2 separate regions of the Homo sapiens genome follow, and region 1 is linked to region 2. Evidence: promoter capture Hi-C in 16 types of primary human blood cells and fetal thymus (Javierre and others, 2016). All regions are on one chromosome and are shown on one strand. Each heading gives the region's core, a stretch centred on a gene start or on the middle of the fragment in contact. The rest is flanking DNA. Distances are from core to core; before and after follow the strand shown. Region 1 has its middle 21 kb from the start of IREB2. Region 2 holds the start of CIB2 (calcium and integrin binding family member 2).

Region 1 (2,700 bases), core at 81-2,580, 290 kb after region 2:
AAACAGGAGTCGATGCATTCTGTTTGGTCCCAGAAAGCAAAGTTGGGACAGGTGAGAACCAGATGAGCACAGGTTTCAGCTCAACATAAAAGAAAACATCTTCATAGACAGTCTGTCACACAATGGAACAGGCATCTCCTGGAGGAAGTGAGAAGGGACACTCTCACCAGAGACAGAACCTGTGTGGGACAGGGGTTTTGATTTGTAGACACTTGAATCTGAATCTACTGCAGCTAATTGTTTAACAGAAACAAGTTTATAATGATGAATTGGTGCTCAGCATCAATTTCATTCTCCTTGTGTTCCTTCCTCCACTGAGGAAGCTGGAAAGCTCAGATCTGTATTTCCCAGACTCCCCTGTAGCAGGATTTGTGGTGTGATTTGGGCTCAGCATATCAGATGGGCTTGCACGGAAGGTGAGGAGGAGGCCATACTTCTGCTGGGTCTGCTGATTTTTCAGTGGCCCTTGAGAATTCCAGTGTCCAGTCACACGCTTTATGTGTATTAAGAAGCAGAGCATGAGGCATTAACTAGTATAGATGGTGGCAGGCACAGAGTGACTCTTCAGCTAGCAGCAGCAGTCGTGGTATCTGATCATGGTGGTGTCCTGATTGTGACAATTTGCCAAGCTGGGTCTCACCTGCTGTCTTCTCCTTCAGACTTTCCGATAAGTCGCTTCCTTTCTCTGGGCCTTGTGAGAAACAAACTTACCTGTCCAAACCCAAAGAATGAACTCGGAGACCTGGAGATCAGCAAAAGTGAGACTTTTAATGATAGTCTTGCAAGATTGGGTGTCTGATGGGCAGACACACCCAGCACAGTTTTAACAAGCAATTTATACCCTAGTGAGCAGGTCCCTTCCCCTGTTCCTCATAGGCTTGAGTACTGTGGGGTCACAATCTTCCTGGACGTCGTCTATTGGTTGTTGGATAGGGGCTTTAGGTGTTTTCTTTAGGGTTGTCTTGCTGCATTTTGCTGCAGCCCACAATGCATCGCAATCCTAGTTAGCTCAGGGGCTCTTTAAGTGTTTGACTTACGACCTACGTAGCTGGGCAGGCTGATAAGAACAGACAAAGCAAGCTATTTTGCAGACTAATAAACTTTCATTTTAGACTAAACTTCTTTGGTTCGGGTGAGGGCAACTAAGGCGGCAGGGGGTGGTGAGGGGGCTGCGCACAACAAGCAGGCATCGGCTATCCAAGCAGGGGCCTAGTATATCCTGTTTCTTATGTAGTTTGCTAACCTAAGCTGATTTAAGGCACATTTTCTTGGAAATGGACCACTGTATACATTATTTCCTTCAGGCCTCACTTGCTTCATTTGACAAAAAGGGGTCAGAACACTGTCGCATCAGTTGAATCAGCTCCCAGCTTCCTCCCAAGGCTCATGCCCTACAGGAGAAGACATCCTAGGATTCAGAGACAGTTTGCAAAGGTCTCTACCTATTCAGAGCAGCTATTTTTCCAAATGGAGTCATACTTCCTAATAATCTCACAAACTCTGCATAGCAGAGCCACATCTTATACAGGCATAGGTTCTAAAGTCAGCATTTAAAGTAAAAATCCTATTTAGTCAAAATGACCTTGAAAATCCTCTAGGTTTTCTATATATTGCATTATTGCATGACAAAAATATCTTTGAATAAGATCAATACAGCCAGCTCTTCCTCCAGCATAGATAGACAGCAGCTTCTTCAGCTGAGTACCAGATACAGTAGTGGGCTTATGTTTTGGGCTGAATTGTATGAAAAATAGAAAATGTTCAACGCAGCTGGGTGCAGTGGCTCATGCCTCAATCCCAGCACTTGGGGAGGCTGAGGCAGGCAGATCACTTGAGATCAGGAGTTCAAAACCAGCCTGGGCAACATGACAAAACCCCGTCTCTACTAAAAATACAAAAATTAGCTGGGAGTGGTAGCACATGACTGTAGTCCCATCTACTCAGGAAGCTGAGGTGGGAGAATTGCTTGAACTCAGGAGGCAGAGGCTGCAGTGAGCTGAGATCACACTATTGCACTGCAGCCTGAGTGACAGAGCGAGACCCTGCCTCAAAAAAAAAAAAAGTTCAATACTACAGATATACCCGGTGCTGGGAGATAGATGCTTACATTATGAAAGATTGAGCTCGGGGAATGGGGTGACAAAGAGCAGGCAGAATGTGTAGGGCAGGGCTCTGAAAGTTCAAAGGCCAAGAGGCTGGGGGAGGGCCTCAAGAGATGGGCCTAGTGGGAGGCAGTGGTGCTGAAGGGTCCTCAGTAGCCCTGCCAAATCCTTCCAACCCGGCCTCCCTTTTGCTCAGCAGTGCCTGGTTTGAAAGAGCCCTTCCATGGGTCTGCCGGAAGAGCTGTCAGGAAGGCTGCAATAATGATGTCACCCATGTTGAGAGAGAAGCAGTGACATTGAGGTGTGAAAGATTGGGAAGATTTCAGGGAAAAAAAGGGTGCAGGGTGATGGATGGGTGGGTTTGCCTAGCTGGAGAGGAAGGGGGTGGCATTCATGGGAGATGAACGGGGGGTGAGGGTGGAACAGCAGAAACAGAGGCTGATGTGGGGAAGCTCAGGGCCTGCTTCCCCTGGAAAGCAGATGACTCAGTGAGATGACGCAGAAGATCCAGGAAGGTGAGAGGGCTCAAATATCAAGCTGGAGAGTTTATTTATTTATTTATTTATTTATTTATTTATTTAGAGACTGAGTCTCCTGC
Region 2 (2,700 bases), core at 29-2,528:
ACAATCCTGCCCCCTCCGCCTGGGGAGTCAGGGGAGAGGCATCAGATGTGGGACTTGAAGGGTGAAAGAGATCCTCTGGAGGGGGGAAAGGCATCCAGGCCCAGGAAATGGCATGGGCAGAGGGAGAGAGGGAGGGAGGAATGAGCCTGGTGAGCTGGAGCAACTGCAAATGGTTTTAAGGCGGCTGCCATGCAGAGGGCAGGGAAGGGACCTGGGGAGACTGAGGCTGCAGAGATAAGCTGAGCAATTGGCCAGGGCTCCGGGTAAGCCAAGGGGTTGGGCTTCATCCTGCAACCACAGCGAAGTTTTTACCTGGGTGGGACGGTATTGGGATTCCAGATCTGGAAAGCTGGCTCTGGAGGCAGGAAAACCTAGAAAGGTCTAAGGAGGTGGCTACTGAGGGCCTAAGGGAGCTGGGAGAGGTGGCCCTGGAAGGCTGCTACCGGGCTTGCGTTCTTGCTCCAGTTATCTCCATGCTGGGGTCAGAAGGAGCGAACCCCAGCCGATAAACAAGACAGTCCCAAGGGAAGACTGCATGTGGGGACTGATGCACCCCACTCCTAGACCAGACAGGACGCCAGCTCTCATTTCTGCTTTACAGAGACTCGCTCTCCTGGGCTCCTTCCTGGGGCTGGGGGGCAGGGAGCGGGGAGGGCGGTCCTCCGTCCAGCCTAGTTTACTGACTCCCTCTCCGGGCCAGATGGGCGCTGGAATGGGTGGCTGGAGAGGGGTTCGGGTCCTGCCTAGGGCGAGAGTAGCTGGAGAGAGGCGCGCCTGAGAGGTTCTTCCAACTGGAAAGAGCTCTTATTCCACCGGTGGGGAAACTGAGGCACGGCGAGGGGAAGTCACCGGCCCAAGGTCACGCGTCGAGCTGAAGGCAGAGGCAGGGTTTGAACCTGGGAGAGCTGGCTCTCGGGAGGCCTCGGCCAGCGACCGAGAAAAGGGAGGGGCGGCGGGGCGGCGGGGCCTGTGTTGGGGGCCGGGCGCGCCGAGCTCACCTGGTAGTTGTCTAGCTGCTCTTCGGTGAAGATGGTCTGCTTGTTCCCCATGGTGGCCGCCGCGCCGCCGCTCGCCCGCCCGGGCTCCGACTCCCATCAGCGGCCGCCAGACCCGGAGCCAGCGCCCCGTGCCCGCGGCCCTCGGCAGCCCCGCGGCTGGCAGCGGCCCACGGTGGCCGGACCCTTCCCGCCCCGCAGCTCGCCTGGAGGAGGCGCGCGGGGGTCTCGGAGGCGGGGACGGGAACCCGGAGCGGCAGCGACTCCGCCGCCGGCGGGAAGAGGGCGGGGCACCCGGCTCCGCGGCTGCAGCGCGCCCGGGTCCCGGCAGGAGGCGACCTGGCCCCGGGAGACGCTGCCCGGCACGAACCCTTGGCTCCCGCGGCCGGAAGTGCTGGGGGCGCGCGGGGGTCTCGGAGGCGGGGACAAAGACCCGGAGCGGCGGCGACTCCGCCCCGCAGCAGGAAGAGGTGTGAGCCCGGGTCCCGCCGTGGGAGTCCAGGTCGCACGGCGTGAGGGTGCGGGGCCTGGGAAAAAACCCTCTCGAGGCGGGCAGTGGGGCGAGTGGCGCCCCTTGACCTGGGGCGGGGGCGGCAGCGAGGACTGTGAGTGCGTGGATCTAGCTGGGGCCGGGCTCCGCCACCGTCTCGCGTCGCGACCTTGGTCAAGCCCTTACCCGGGCCCTGTCCCTCTGGGGAGAAGGAGGGGGTCAGTCAAGCTGACATCTGAGGCCCTCCCGGCCAGGCCTCGGGAAGCCCATCTGGCCTTTGGGCGCGGCCTAGGCAGGGCATCTCAGACCTTCTGTGTTCCTTAGGGAGCAGGACAGGATTTACTTGGCTTGGTTACAAACGTGAGACTTGAGAGGATTTAAAGGACTTGACTGTGTCCACAGAAGTGTGACAAAGGCCAAGACATTTTTTGGAGCTTTTAAGCAGATGCCATTGTAAGGGAAGCAGGACTTTACCTCTGCCCTCCTAGGGTCTTTGGCTGGGCTTGAGAATTAATTTGGCATAAGACAGATTAAGGGGAGAAAAACAGATTTAATACAAGTTTTACATGACGTGGAAGCCCTCATAAGGAAATGAAGACCCTGAGAACTGGCAAAATCTAAATACTTTTTTTTTTTTTTGAGATGGAGTCTCCCTCTGTCGCCCAGGCTGGAGTGCAGTAGCGCGATCTTGGCTCGCTACAACCTCCGCCTCCTGGGTTCAAGCGATTCTTCTGCCTCAGCCTCCCCTAGTAGGTGGGACTACAGGGGCATGCCACCACACCCAGCTAATTTTTTTTTGTATTTTTAGTAGAGAGAGGTTTCACCATGTTGGCTGGGCTGGTCTCGAAATCTTGACCTCAGGTGATCCACCTGCCTCAGCCTCCCGAAGTGCTAGGATTAGAGGCCTGAGTCACCACGCCCGGCCAATTATTGTATTTTTTTTGTAGAGATGGGGTTTTGCCGTGTTGCCCAGGCTGGTTTTGAATTCCCAGGCTCGAGCAATCCACCCACTTTGGCTTCTCACCCAAAGTGCTGGGATTATAGGATGTGAGCCATCATGCCCGGCCTCATCTCCTGTTTTTTAGAAAAAGAAGGATGATCAAGAGTGCCCTTCTTGCATCTGCTATTTTTCAAGTGCCTTTAACTCAAATACTCAATATGCCAGAGCAGCATATGTTGTGGTGGCATGTTCTGAACTCCTTCCCCATCCACCAA

The links. The method cuts DNA at HindIII sites, captures the fragments that hold promoters and counts their contacts. A CHiCAGO score of 5 or more calls a contact.
Region 1: a fragment that was not itself captured here is called in contact with the fragment with the promoter of CIB2 in region 2 in 1 of 17 cell types (total CD4 T cells); the score reaches 5.0 in total CD4 T cells.

Annotation. Positions count from the first base shown.
Region 1 is chr15:78,415,917-78,418,616 of GRCh38, forward strand. No RefSeq gene overlaps it. Among named protein-coding and RNA genes, the nearest start is that of IREB2, 21 kb to the right of the region's middle. The HindIII fragment of the contact is 3,863 bases long and covers 1-2,700 here.
Region 2 is chr15:78,130,167-78,132,866 of GRCh38, forward strand. CIB2 (calcium and integrin binding family member 2) reads right to left here and starts at 1,279. Exons shown (of 6, transcript NM_006383.4): 1 at 999-1,279. The coding sequence starts at 1,049. RefSeq lists a silencer at 984-1,503. The HindIII fragment of the contact is 4,409 bases long and covers 1-2,700 here.